Linked DNA regions of Homo sapiens: all the other regions are linked to region 1. Evidence: promoter capture Hi-C in human tissues and cell types (Jung and others, 2019). All regions are on one chromosome and are shown on one strand. The core of a region is centred on a gene start or on the middle of the fragment in contact, and the rest is flanking DNA. Distances in the headings are between cores, read along the strand shown. Region 1 holds the start of KNSTRN (kinetochore localized astrin (SPAG5) binding protein). Region 2 holds the start of EIF2AK4 (eukaryotic translation initiation factor 2 alpha kinase 4). Region 3 holds the start of C15orf62 (chromosome 15 open reading frame 62). Region 4 overlaps SRP14-DT (SRP14 divergent transcript). Region 5 overlaps SRP14-DT (SRP14 divergent transcript).

Region 1 (2,714 bases), core at 60-2,559:
TCATAAATAGCTACTCCATAATCTCCCACAACAGTTTTCTGATGTCTGAAGCTTACTCTGTACTATAATCTCTAGATTAGGCAGTTCCCCGACTGCAGACCCCATGAGATGACTTTCAACCACAAGCAAAGCAACACAAAGCAGATGGCAAAGCAATTAAAAACTATTTTTAATCATGTCTCTCTCTTCGCCCAAGTTTCTCAAATACTGTGCCTAGGTCTAACCCCTCTCTCCCACTTCACTCAACAAACGTGTATTGAGAATGTGGTAATGAGAAACACGGTGCAGATATAAAGGTGAACAAAGAACCCTAAGTATCCCACTTCTCAAATGATTCTCCTCTTTCCTCCCTGAAAACAAACCCAATCCCTCAAGATAGCCCAAGTCTGGAAATAAGACGATAACCGATTAGAAGGGGATTCCTAGCTTAATGGGAATAACATTGTACAATAACCAACAACTTGAATCTAACTGATGAATACAGTACACATGCGGGCAGAAAAGTGCAGAGCACGTCTAAAATCCTACCACATGGTCCTTCCCTTAACTCCCATCATAAACCTACATAGCCTGGTTATAGGGGGCTCACAGGTTTTCAGGGCCGACGGGACGCCCTTCCCCGTGCCCGCGCCACCCATTCGATCTCCACACTCCCGAGACCATCCCCGGCCAGGCCGCAGTGCCCCGGGCGTGGCTTGGACCCTCACCTGCCGGCTGGCCGCCGCTCAGCGCAGAGGGGGGCTGCAGGCTATACACTGTCTTAACCACACTGGTCATCGTAACGAGGCGGCACGGCTGAACCCTGGAAGGTACAGGATGAATGTTACCCAGCGCTGGGCCACTGGGCCCGAGAGAGTGGAGGGCCCGGGGATAGCGCGACCCGACAGGCCCCGGCTCGGGGTTGGAAAAGAGAAAATCCTCCTTTCCCAGCTCATTCCGTCCTTCCTCCCATCCAGCCCAGTCCCTCGCCCCGGGAGAGCCGAACCCAGGAGCCCGCCGGTCCTGCCCGCAGTCCTTCTCGCTCTCGTTTAAAAGATTCCCTGCAGCAACTGTCGTGCCACCGGCTAAGTCGGCCGCCTGGGTTTCAAATAGAAACTTCCGGTAGCTAGGCGGAAGTGGGTGGGAATCGCACTCTGTAGACAGCCATGTTGTACGGAAAACTCTGTCCAGGGGCGGGGCTTCGGGAGCCGCCATACTGTACGGAAGGTTCGCTCAGAGGCCAGAGCCAGACCTAGCGAAAGGTGTTGGAGCCCCCAGGTCTGGGCAGAGGAGGAGGGTGATGCAATTTGTAGGCTTGAATGGAGCTAATGAGCTACCAGCGTCATATTCCGGGATGGAGACGCAAACGTGGCGACATTTAGGGTCCATGTCACAATCCTCTTTATTTAGTTTGGGATTGTTAGGGATATTGCCAGGAGCACAGGTTATTTGGATGAAAACTACACGTTACAGGTGGAGAGTGGCAGGTGAGGCTTGAAGAAAAGGACCTATGGGCTGAGATACCTGAGGCACCTACCTGAGGTCCTAATTTTAATAGCACTTATCCAGATTTTCAGTAGTGATTCAAAGCTACTCCCAATAAACAGGGTAGCTTCCATTACTAAATGCACTAGCTCATTCATTTCATCTGGCATTTATTGAGTACCTGCTGATTACCCAACAGTGTTCTCAGTGGGTGGAAGGGAGTGAGGGAGGGCAAATATCAAGATTGACCTTGGCTCTGCCCTCCTGGAGTTTACAACTTAGAAAACAGACAGTGAACAAATAATCACATAAATAAATATATATTTACGGATTGTGGTGAAATTGTGAAGAAGGCTGGGCACAGTGGCTCACAGCTGTAATTATAGCACTTTGGGAGGTGGAGGCGGGTGAATTGCTTGAGTCCAGGAGTTTGAGACCACCCTGGGCGACATGGTGCAACCCCGTCTCTACAAAAAATACAGAAATTAGCCAGGTGTCGTGGCATGCTCCTGTAGTCCCAGCTACCCTGGAGGCTGAGGTGGGGGAATTATGTGACCCTGGGCGGGGCAGAGGTTGCAGTGAGCGGAGATCGCGCCACTGCACTTCACCCTGGGTGACAGAGCGTGATCTCAAAAATCAAACCAAAACACACACACTATGAAGAAAAAGTACAAAATCGTATAAGATAGAAAAGCAGGGAAACTTAGATTATATTGGGGGCTCAGGGAAGACCTCTCTGAGATGATGTTTGATTAAGGAAGGAGAGGGAGTTAATTTCATTGGGGAAAGGGGAAAATGCAAAGTCCCAAGGCAGAAATGGGTTCTTCTATAGGCACAGAAAGATAGGAAGAGAGTGGTACAGATAAAGCTGGAGAAATAAGCAGTCAAAAGACAGATTTTACAGGCCAAGGTATAGAGATTAGATTTTATCTAAAAGTAATGGAAAGCCACTGAAGTATTATAGCAGGAGAGTGTCATCCAATTTATATTTTATTTTATTTTATTATTATTTTTTGAGACAGGGTCTCACTCTGTTGCCCAGGCTGGAGTGCAATCATAGTTCACTGCAACCTTGAACTCCTGGGCTCAGGAGATCCTCCCACCTCGGCCTCCTGAGTAGCTAAGACTAAAGGTGCCTGCCACCAGACCCAGCTAATTTTTGTAGAGATGGGGTCCTGCTATGATGCCCAGGCTGGTCTTAAACCCCTGGCCTCAAATGATCCTCCCACTTCAGCCTCCCAAAGTGTTGG
Region 2 (2,714 bases), core at 157-2,656, 450 kb after region 1:
TGTCTCTACAAAAAATTAAAAAAATTAACCAGGTGTAGTGGCATGTGCCTGTAGTCCCAGGTACTTGACAGGCTGAGGCAGAAGGATTGCTTGAGAATAAGCTGCAGTGAGCCGTGGTCATGCCTCTGCACTCCAGCTTGGGAGACAGAGCAAGACCCTGTCTCAAAAAGAAAAAAAAAAAAAGCAGATGAAGTTAGAACTATGTTTTAAATGATAATATGATAATATTCAGAAATAGTTTGGTAGATCAACTCTTCAAGGATGGGGAAAAAACTGTCAGTATAAATACTTTATAACGTGCCTTAATTTCCAGACAAAAAGGCAAAATATTATTTTAAACAAAATGCCATTTTAAAAGGTCTAGAGCTAGAGCAAGCTGGTCTAACCCGAGGCCCATGGGCCGCTTTGAATGTGGCCCAACACGCATTCGTAAACTTTCTTAAAACATTGAGGTTTTTTTGCGAATTTTTTTTTTCTTTTAGGTCATCAGCTATCCTTAGTGTTAGTGTATTTTGTGTGTGGCCCAGGGAAGCCAAAAGATTGGACACTCCTTCTCTAGACTCAGTCTAGAACCCTCTCTCTACTACAGCTAAGATGAATGTGTGCTTTATTCTGAGCTAAATGTCTTAGAGGAAGGTGCAGAGGTATGGAAAGTTCCTCCATACCGGAAAACACAGTGAGGATGCCTGGGGAGTACAGAGGGAATTATGTGGCGTGCAGATTTGAATGCATGGATGAGACTTGAGAATTCTGATTGAGGACGTAAGGCCTGTGCGAGAGCCCAAAAAGCGTTCTCAGAACAAAGTAGCAAGGGGCGCGTATGAATTGCTGTGGTATCATCCGCAAGGGCTTTCAGAGGGGAAAAAGGACAAGGTTGGAAGGAGGCAGTTATGTTATGGGATGTAGGCAGGAATAAGAAGCAGTGCCAGGTAAGAGGGAGGAATCCAGGGGGATTCCTCTGGGGAAATCATGGGGAAAGGACTGTAGAAGAATTCGGCCTAGGTGGGATTCTGCAGACCAGCTGCAGGTGCAAGGACTAAAGTGAGCATGGGTGGAACCTAAGGGATGAAAAGACTGCAGGATCCTAAAGCGGCGGCCCAATCTGGAAGTGTCCGGGCTTTGGCCCAGGGCCCGGGGAGGCCAGGGCACGCCAGCCCGGGCCTGACAAGCCACGTTCCTACCGGTCCGCAAGCGTCCGGCCGCAGGTCTTGGAAGTCCGCGCCGTAAATGGCCTCCAGGGCCTGTAGCTCGTGGTCCTGTCGTTGCGGGTAGCTCTCCGGAGGCTCGTCCCGGCCGCGCCCGGGGGCCCCACGGCCCCCAGCCATGGCAGCGCTGCGCCCAAGGCAGGGCGGCCTTGCCTGGGCGGCGGTGGGCCCCCGGCAGCCTGCGGGGCGGGGCTCCGCGCTGGGGACGGGCTATGGGCGGTGTTCCACGCTGGAAACGGGCTCGTGGGCGGGGTTCCGCGCCGGGGACGGGCCGTAGGCGGAGCTCCGCGCCGGGAGCTAGCTCCGGAGGCTCCAGAAGCCCAGGCGAAGGAAGAAGGCAGGGGGACAGCTTTGCCCACATCCTGCTGGGGGAAGGGGAGCAAAGGAACTCCACGAACTTAAGAAATGAATCACAGATAGGAATGAAAACGCCACATTGTATAGTTTTCACGAAACAAGTATCTTTAACAGAAGTGCTTGCTGGAACTTCTCCACCCTGGCATGGCTAGTGCGGGAAACTCTTTTTTCTTTTTTTTGGCAGAGTTTCGGCTCTTGTTCCCCAGGCTGGAGTGCAGTGGCGCGATCTCGGCTCACTGCAACTTCCGCCTGCCGGGTTCACGCGATTCTCCTGCGTCAGCCTCCAGAGTAGCTGGGACTACAGGCGCGCACCACCACGCCCGGCTAATTTTTCTATTTTTAGTAGAGATGGTGTTTCACCATGTTGGCCAAGATGTTCTCGATCTCCTGACCTTGTGATCCGCCCGCCTCGGCCTTCCAAAGTGCTGGGATTACAGGCATGAGCCACCGCGCCCGGCCGGGAAACTCTTAAAGGGCAGACGTCGATGGGTTCTGAGGTCACTTCTAATTTCACCTTGTACCTTCCCAGAACAAGACTACCGGGAGTAAAAATTGTGACCCCCCCCACCCTCCTTCCTCCCACTTTAGTACCCCCAAACTTATTCTCTGAGCCACAGATTCAACACCCTCATTATGTTCTCTGTCTCTACATTCCCCAGCTTTGGGGATCTCCACTACCACCTTGCAAATTCAATTGAAAACTGTCTTTCCACTCAGGCATCTTTATGAGCTACCTTCCCATGAAGAGAATCATGTTCCCTTCCCAGTTCACTCAGTGTGAATTTAGGGAGTCTTTGTGTTATATCCTGCCTCAAGTCGTCGTTTTTCAAGTTTATAAAATAATAACCTGTCTACCCAGACATTGTTATTGCACTTCATCTTCAGTAACTTACTAATGCTGCATGTCCATTTCGAATAATCCTATTGTACTAACCCAAGTTAGGTTTAAGTGACGTTTCTTCTGTCTACCTTGCTTACTCCTCCACTGTTCACTAAATAATGATTGTGTAAATTCCTTGCTGCCATCTATCCACTCATTTCTGGCCAGATAACACAAATGCACTAGCTTGACCCAAGGCCAATTTAAATCATCATCTTCCCTCTGCTGGAGACCCGTTCCTTCTCCAGTGATCTCTGACTAGGTAAATGGCA
Region 3 (2,714 bases), core at 105-2,604, 390 kb before region 1:
CTCCCTTTCCCGGCACAGCCTCCCTTTCCCGGCATAGCCAGCTTTCTTCAGGGTCCTGCCAGGAAGGGCCGCCCCCCCAACATTTCCAGATTGCCTCTGTCCCTCCACTCTGGGGTGCCTGGAAGGACTGTCCAGGACCCAGAGAGCAGGCAGAGCCCTGGATTCCTATCCTGGAATCCTCCCCCAGGATGAAGAAGCTCTGCCTGCCTGAACCCTCCAGCGATGGGCCTGGAGTCCTGTCCCTGTCCTTTCCTTAATCCCCAGCCTCTGGATCTTCCAGTCACCCCGGCTTTGCCCACCCTCACCCCATTTAGAAGCTGGGCTCGCTAGGAAACTGCTCCCTTAGCATCTGCAGAACTTCCTCAAGAAGTGAAATCCCCAGGTCCACTTTGAAGGAGAGGAAGGGATCACTGAGGTCTGGGGTAGGTGTCCTCTGGAAGCAGGGAGTGTCCACAAGGCCCTTCTCTGAGTGCTGGTGGAGGGCACTCGACAGAGAGAGCGCCGATGGCAGGGTGGCAGAGTAGGCTGCTGTGTAGGCAGGTGGGGGCTCCAGGATGTTGGGGCAGCTTGAGCTCTCTCGGTAGAGGCGTGGGGGCTTGGGTGGGGCCAGCAGGGTGGCCCGGGGCTGCTCGTCCCCCCACAGTGGCAGGCGCCGGCCATCTGGCCTCCCTTGTAGCTCCCGGATGACTTCTCGGTTGCTGTACTCCTCGTGGTCCCCACCTGCTGTGCTGGCCTGGCTAAGCACACTACTCTGTCGCCGGAGCCGCCGTGGCCGCCCCAGGCTCAGCTGCTTGAAGAAGGAGGCGTTGCGGAAGGAGCCTTTCCGCCAGGTCTCCATGGGGCCCAGGGGAGCCAGCAGACAGGTGTTCAGGAGCAGCCAGGGTGCATGTGGTCCCTGCTGGGGCAGTGAGTGCCAGCAGCTGGGGAGGCTCCCCTAGGAGCAGAGGCCTCAGGGTTTCCACTCAGCACAGACCTTTGACCACATCTTGGATGGTGAGAGGAGGGCTCAGGAAGAAGGAACTTTTTTGCCCAGGAGAGCAGACAGCTGGGAGTTCCTGGCAGCAAGAGTTTCCCACAGGGACAGGAGTGGCCTGGTTACTGAATAGGGTAGTGGAAAAAAACCCAGGAGGAAGAAGCAGCACTTACTGGAGCCAGAATGAGGGCAGCTCCGGCGGAGGCAGAGGTGGACCTTCTCGGGCTGGGTGAGGCTGGCGAGCGCTCCTTCCACAGGCAGGCAGCAGATGGCCCGAGCTCACTCGCCCTGGTGTTTGCCTGGCTCCTATATGTCTCTGGGGCAGTGTGGGGCCGTGCCCTCTCTGCCAGTGGCTCCCGGACTCTGATGAGTGGCCTGGCTGTTTGTGGCGGTGGAGATGTGTTTTTGTTCTCAGCTGACTCAGTCAGGTGGGAAGCCAGGTTTCGTGCTCTTGGGTAATTGCAGCATCCGCGTGCAGGGATGGGGCAGCTGGGACCAACACCCCAGGGCAATGGGGAGCTTAAGATTCCTCTGGGGACTCGTGTGGGGGCAGCCCTGCTTTATGTGTCACCACGCGGCTTCCTTTCTGATCACAGCCCCACCACCCTGGGCCCCCAGCAGGTGCGCCTGGCTCCCTGCCCACAGTGTCTGGGTAGGAAGAGTTCGGGGCGGGTGGGAGTTAATTGAAAGGCAGGCGTGTGGAACGATTGTTGGGGAAGGAAGAGACCTGTAGCTGGTATGGGTGACTCAGCCCCGCTGTCAGGCCCTCACGAGCAGGAACAGGAAGGGGGGCAGAGGGTGTGTTAATGGGGAGCAGCGCCATGCCTGTGATGGGCGGGCTCTGCTGCCCAGGGTTGGGCTGGGGGCCCGCCAAGGGTGGCTCCAAGTTTTCTTGGCAGAGCAGCATTAACCTGGGGATGGGAGATGTGGCCTCCTCTTGGCCTGCCATCAGCCTGGCTGCTATTTCCTTGTCCTCCCTTGTTTTACCCTAGAGGGCTCCTGCCAGGAGAGCGGCTGCTGAAGGCCGGGCCGTGTTGCCTCCTACCTGGCTGTGCTCCAGCCCTTCCCCTCTGGCTACCGGGCTTCCTCTGGGGTCCTCCTTCTCTTGCAGGAGGCTGGGCCAGGGAGGCTGCCGTGAATTGTCAGCCGTGCTCTGGGCCAGGCTTAGCAGTCCGGCCTAGCTGGGACTGCTGCAGCCGGGGAGAGGGGAGGGGTGCAGCCATCGGGAGGAACAGGGGAACCCAGGCTGAGTAACACTTCCTGTTTCTCTACACCCCTTACTCCAAACCTGCTGGCCAGGGCCTGGCATCTCAACCCTAGCTGCTCCCTTCCTATTCCCCGGGTCACTGACCACCACATTTTCCTCCTGCCTTGCTCTGTGACAGCGTCCCCATGCGGGGTACCGCGGATCAGGGCCCCACAGCTCTCTGCTACGGGCAGGCCACCGCATCTTGCAATCCCTGGCCTAGCTCACTTCTGTGCCAACTCAGGTGTGCTTCACACTTCTCTGAGAAGCTGTTGGGACCACATGATCATCACACAGCCTAAGCGGCACCGAGGGAGGAAAAGGTTTAATTCCCACCGCAGACCTTATCAGGGCGTGGGTTGGCAGCTTAGGTCCCGCTGTAGAGCTGCTTCTCCACCCTACAGCCTTGGCCCATTCAGATGGTTGTTTATTATTCTTTTGATTATGGGCCCTGCCCTCCAGGAGCCCTGGTGTGTAGTTTTAGAGGCACGCTGG
Region 4 (2,714 bases), core at 126-2,625, 330 kb after region 1:
AGGTTGAAGGGTGGGGCTGAAAGTCCCAATCCTCTAACCCTGTCTTGATCTTTCTGGCGGCCAGCTCCCATCTTGAAGCTACCTAGGTGCTTAGCGTGCAAAAAGACACTTAAAACTTAGGAGATTCCAAGGATTTTAGGAGTTGTATGTCAGGAATGAAGACCTAATTAATACCTGTTTCACAATATCACAGGCACTAACTGCAGGTAGTCAGTGTCAGAATTGACACTGAATCCAATTGCAGGATGCCCCGTTGGTGTCAGAGAATAGTTGTCAGAACATACAAAGAGGACTCTTCCCTAAGATTCACATCACACTCCTTCTCCTGCCTGAAATGGCACTCTGCTCCCCGCAGTAACTAGTCCACTAGTCTGTTTTTCTAAATTCTTTCTTCCCTTCAAAGTCCACCTCCTTCACAGCTTGGTACTAGTGATGCTGTCCTGTAGCCCTTTCTTGCATGTATAACTCCGCACCTCCCACTAGGTAGCATCTGCTTTTGAAGAGAGAGACCTGGGGAAGGCTTGCCCTGGACAAAGGAGTTGCCCGCTAAATGCTCATCGGTGGATAGAAGGGGAAGGCTGCATTGAAGTGAGGAAGGCTGCTGGCCTGGCGAGCATTCCTCAAGAAGAAGCCTCGGCTTCAGGCCTCTCCCCCTCCCTCCTTCCTCTGTTGGCTGTGAGAAGCAGTGTCTTGGGATGGGCCGGGTTTCGGGGCGCTGGATCTGCAGTTCCAGCATCATTGCCCTGACAGTAAATACAAAATTTTGGCATCTTCTCTGCTGCGATTGCCAGGGCTCACCCAGGCCAACACCCGCCCCCTCCCCACACACCACACTCCACACACACACCACACACCCCCACACTCCACACACACATCCCCACCCTCCCCACACACCACACACTCCCCACTCCAGACACACACACCACACCCCCCATACCACACACGCACCATCACCCCACACCCCCTACACACATCCACACACACTACCTCCTTACACACACACACCCACACCGCACCACACACCCCCACACACCACACCCCCCACACACCACATACACCACTGCCCATGCATACCACACCCCCTCACACGCGCACACACACCATGCACACACAAACCCCCCCCACACTACACACTCCTCACACACACACAACCCCCCACACATGCCACATGACACCTCCCCACACACCACACACAACCACACAGACGCACACACCACACCCCACACCACACACACCACCGCCCCCGCACACCACAATCCCCCACACACCACACACTCCTCACACACACCACACCCCCCACACACACCACTCCCCCACACACCACACACCCTCACAACTTCCTCACACTCCCCCTACACACACACACACACACACACACACACACACACACACACAAGGGCTAGACCATGCCTAGCCTATGTCTGCCTCATTTTGGGCCGCAGTTGAAAACCACTAAACATGGCCATAGTCTGGCCTTGTTACTCCTCTCTCCCTTGCTGTTTGGCAAAGGGCCAGTAGAGAACAGTGTGTTCCCCCTTGCACACTTTCTCACCCACCTTCCACCTCACACACTCCACCTTTCCCTGAAGCTGCCTCCAAAAGCCTAGGTTTATGTCTCCTTCAACAGCTCTGACAGAGTCTGGTTGACCCAAGCCATGTGGGTAATTGGTGGGGGCAGACAGCCATGCTACCCATCCCCTCAACACCCTGGAAGATGAGCAGGCAGCAGACAGGTGGGGGCTACACTGGGCTCCTCCTCCCAGGCAGGCCCATGTGAGAGGTTTCACAAAGTGACCTAGAGGCACTTAGGAAGCCCAGGGCCTTCTTCCACATCACTGCCCACGGGGAACTGCTCTGAGTTGCTAGGCCTAGATCTGGCTTCAGAAAAAGCATGGCTCCTGCGTGATCTTTGGGCCTCCACCTTCACTCCTTCTTCCAGCCCCCACCTCCTCTGAAGGCCTCTCTCAGCATATGCTGGGTCTTAGAAGGAGAGAATATTAGCCATTTATACCCTCAGGGAAATTTAAATGGCCATGTTAAGTTTTAGCTGTAACTGGAATGAAAGGCCTGGTCCCCAGTTACAGGAATTGTAAGGAGCAGCTTCAGTGGAAAAGAGGGTTGGGAGGATGGGATGTGTCTTTCCTGGTATTACTGTGACCCACTCCCCATGTTCTGCTTGTCAAGCAATCTGGAAGAATTCTTGCTCTTCCCCACCAAGTGTTGGGCAATCTTCTAGAATACTACCTCTTAAGATATTCTGAGTCCAAATCTCCCAAGATTTTCTCCCAAATCTCTTTATGGTGAGGATCTGGGGAAAACAAAATCCCATCCTATTTCAAGTTCTGAATAGAATACAATTCCATTTTATCTTGCCCTCAATTGGATTCTCATCCTAATTTCTTTCCCAGCTATACTAGCCCCCAAACAGTCATTACAGCAATCCCAAAGTTACCTGACAGCATTGGAGTCTCACATTTAAAACTGGAAGGGACTTTACAGCTCAATCCCAACTCCCCAAGTTACAGAGGAAGAAACTCAAGTCCGGCAAAAAGTGACTTGTCCAAGGTCCCACGCCAATGAGTGGCAGAATTCAGATTAGAACTCAGCACTTCGGCTGCCACTCCAGTGCTGTTTCTGTAAGGCCACAACCACTTCACATCCCCACTCAATTTAGAGTTTGAGGCCTGGAGTTTAGGTACTATTTTTGGAGACAT
Region 5 (2,714 bases), core at 73-2,572, 320 kb after region 1:
AATTCAAAGAAAAATGAATATTGATATTTTCAAATACAAATTGTATCTTTCTTTTAAATGTCCAATGGAATCTAAATGCCAGAGCAATTCTGTGTCCAACATTATCCATTAAAAAAAATAGGGGAACAAACGCTAATTAAACAGCTTAGAAGTTTACATTATTTCGTTCTCTCCAAGAACTTGTATTTCCATTTCACTCCTGTTACAGATTTTATGCTAATGTAAGGGTTTTTTTTTGTTTGTTTGTTTGTTTTTTTTTTGAGGCAGGGTTTTGCTCTGTTGCCCAGGCTGGAGTGCAGTGGTGTGATCCTGATTCACTGCAGCCTCAATCTCCTGGGCTCAGGTGATTCCCCCACCTCGGCCTTCTGAGTAGCTGGAACTACAGGCCTGCACCACCATGCCCTGCTAATTTTTGTATTTTTTGTAGAGACACAGTTTCACCATATTGCCCAGGCTGGTCTCCAATTCCTAGGCTCAAATGATCCGCCCACCTCGGCCTCCCAAAGTGTTGAGATTATAGGTGTGAGCCACAGCACCCAGCCTGTATTTATTTTTTATGCTTGAAAATCTTTTATTGGCTAGGCATGGTGGTTCATGACTGTAATCCCAGTACTTTGGGGAGGCTGAGGCAGGAGGATGGCTTGAGCCCAGGAGGTCAAGGCTGCAGTGAGCCATGATTGCACCACTGCACTCTAGCCTGACTAACAAAGGGAGAAGTTGTCTCAAAAAAAAAAAAAAAAAAAAGAAAGAAAGAAAAATCTTTGATTGATTATTGTATTAAATAAAATTTAAAGATTAAAACTTCTGGCCGGGACTGGTGGCTCACACCTGTAATCCCAACACTTTGGGAAGCCGAGGGGCAGATCACGAGGTCAAGAGGTCAAGACCATCCTGGCCAACATGGTGAAACCCTGTCTCTACTAAAAATACAAAAATTAGCTAGGCGTGATGGCACACACCTGTAGTCCCAGCTACTTGGGAGGCTGAGGCAGGAGAATCGCTTGAACCCGGGAGGTGGAGGTTGCAGAGAGCTGAAATTGCGCCTCTGCACTCCAGCCTGGGTAACAGAGCAAGACTCCTTCTCAAAAAAAAAAAAAAAAAAAAAAATTCCTCTGTTCCCAAAGCTGAGCATTAATTTTTTGGTTATGAGTTTAGTGTTAGAATAGTTTATATCCAATTGATCAGAGCAATGTAAATAATTACGAAATTTGATAAACAACTATTAAACATAAAAGGTAAATTTTTATTGGAAATGCATCTCTTAATAAAATAGTTGGGGTTGGGACAGGTTTTCTTCCCAATTAGTGTATGTATATGTGGATGACTTATTGCTAGACTCACACAAGGTTCAACATGAAGTTTACTCCCATGTTTAGTCTTTTGTAGGTTTAAACATTGAGAAACACTGTCCACATAAATAAATAAATGGAAGCCGATGAGTTTGTTATGAGGATGCCATTCAATTCTTTGAACTTCTTCCAAGTTATATGCCTAATAACATTATTATCAAAATGTTTTTTTATGATCCGCTGGCAATTTGATTAGTGCCTCTTTCAATTTTGCTGAAAGCAGAGCTGGAAACCACTTGACTTGCAGAAAGACTTGCTCCTCTGTCACTTGACCCCCAGGAGTCACTTTGTTTGATGCCTTGGAGATTTCTACCCCTAGGGCAGTGCCCCAGAGTGGGGGGTCACATGGGTGAGAGGGGCAGCTTTCTCTTGTAAAGCTGTCTTCCCCAGCAAATGGGAAAGGGGATGCCTTGTCTTGGATGCCTTTTTAGGAATATCGCTTTTAGGAAAAAGAGCATAGAAAAACTGAGGATCAGAAAATCGATTCTCCTCAAACTATCTTGATTCACAAACCCCTTTGGGCACCCCTGGGGGTATGTCACAATTTTATGAGTAAGAGACTGGAAATGTACCTGGGGGCCAGAACGTAAGTTTTGACTCCTCTGCTAGGAGTGAGCTCAAAAATGGATATGATTCAAATACATAGATGCCTGTGGCCAATATTCCGGATCTTCACAGTCCTCGGAATGCCCTGGCAGGGCTAAACTCCTTTTAGTCCAGTCCTCCTCAAGCTCAGACCTGCAACCTCTTCATTCTTACTGTGTATTGAGGGTTCCCTGAACTGAAGGAAGAAAGTGTCTGGAGGGTGGGAGAGACCGTGTGTGGCAGAGTTAGAAACATCAGTCTATCTCAGGGTCCTAGACAAGTGATCTCCACATAATCAGCAACAGATGGTCAGGCAGCACCTCCAAATATTTGTATCCTTATCAATCATATTTATGTGTGACTGCCAATCCATATGTCATGTGTATTAAGCTTTATTTTAGGTTTTTTTATTTTTTTGAGACGGAGTCTTGCTCTGTCACCCAGGCTGGGGTGTAGTGGCGCGATCTCGGCTCACTGCAACCTCTGCCTCCCGGGTTCAAGCGATGCTCATGCCTCAGCCTCCCAAGTAGCTGGGACTACAGGCACGCACCACCATGCCTGGATAATTTTTGGTAGAGACAGGATTTCACCACATTGGCCAGGCTGGTCTCGAACTCCTGACCTCAAATGATCCACCCACCTCAGCCTCCCAAAGTGCTGGGATTACAGGTGTGAGCCACCGTGCCCGGCCTGTATTCCCTATTCTTAATAGATTATCTTGTAAACCTTCTTTGTAGCCCATTTCTCTAGACTCAACAGCTTTCATTCCAGGTTGTTTTT

Evidence for each region. The method cuts DNA at HindIII sites, captures the fragments that hold promoters and counts their contacts. A contact is called where the count stands out against the background at its distance.
Region 2: a contact is called between the fragment with the promoter of EIF2AK4 here and the fragment with the promoter of KNSTRN in region 1, in 1 of the 25 tissues and cell types used here (adrenal gland).
Region 3: a contact is called between the fragment with the promoter of C15orf62 here and the fragment with the promoter of KNSTRN in region 1, in 1 of the 25 tissues and cell types used here (lymphoblastoid cells).
Region 4: a fragment that was not itself captured here is called in contact with the fragment with the promoter of KNSTRN in region 1 in 2 of the 25 tissues and cell types used here (IMR-90 fibroblasts and mesenchymal stem cells).
Region 5: a fragment that was not itself captured here is called in contact with the fragment with the promoter of KNSTRN in region 1 in 2 of the 25 tissues and cell types used here (psoas muscle and thymus).

The regions. Positions count from the first base shown.
Region 1 is chr15:40,381,316-40,384,029 of GRCh38, reverse strand. It overlaps KNSTRN (kinetochore localized astrin (SPAG5) binding protein), which reads right to left and starts at 1,309. Exons shown (of 9, transcript NM_033286.4): 1 at 986-1,309; 2 at 708-802. The coding sequence starts at 1,194. RefSeq lists enhancers at 231-752, 818-987, 753-1,276, 1,236-1,305, 1,931-2,431. The HindIII fragment of the contact is 15,043 bases long and covers 1-2,714 here.
Region 2 is chr15:39,932,807-39,935,520 of GRCh38, reverse strand. It overlaps EIF2AK4 (eukaryotic translation initiation factor 2 alpha kinase 4), which reads right to left and starts at 1,406. Exons shown (of 39, transcript NM_001013703.4): 1 at 1,182-1,406. The coding sequence starts at 1,325. RefSeq lists a silencer at 1,124-1,533 and an enhancer at 1,554-1,693. The HindIII fragment of the contact is 10,364 bases long and covers 1-2,714 here.
Region 3 is chr15:40,768,620-40,771,333 of GRCh38, reverse strand. C15orf62 (chromosome 15 open reading frame 62) reads right to left here and starts at 1,354. Exons shown (of 1, transcript NM_001130448.3): 1 at 1-1,354. The coding sequence starts at 838. The coding sequence ends at 311. All of the region lies in intron 10 of DNAJC17 (DnaJ heat shock protein family (Hsp40) member C17), which reads left to right. RefSeq lists enhancers at 221-837, 795-884, 838-1,456, 2,075-2,693. The HindIII fragment of the contact is 9,899 bases long and covers 1-2,714 here.
Region 4 is chr15:40,049,131-40,051,844 of GRCh38, reverse strand. All of the region lies in intron 2 of SRP14-DT (SRP14 divergent transcript), which reads right to left. Among named protein-coding and RNA genes, the nearest start is that of SRP14-DT, 11 kb to the right of the region's middle. The HindIII fragment of the contact is 7,633 bases long and covers 1-2,714 here.
Region 5 is chr15:40,066,020-40,068,733 of GRCh38, reverse strand. SRP14-DT (SRP14 divergent transcript) reads right to left here. Exons shown (of 3, transcript NR_040060.1): 3 at 1,225-2,714. Among named protein-coding and RNA genes, the nearest start is that of SRP14-DT, 28 kb to the right of the region's middle. RefSeq lists a silencer at 231-414. The HindIII fragment of the contact is 7,878 bases long and covers 1-2,714 here.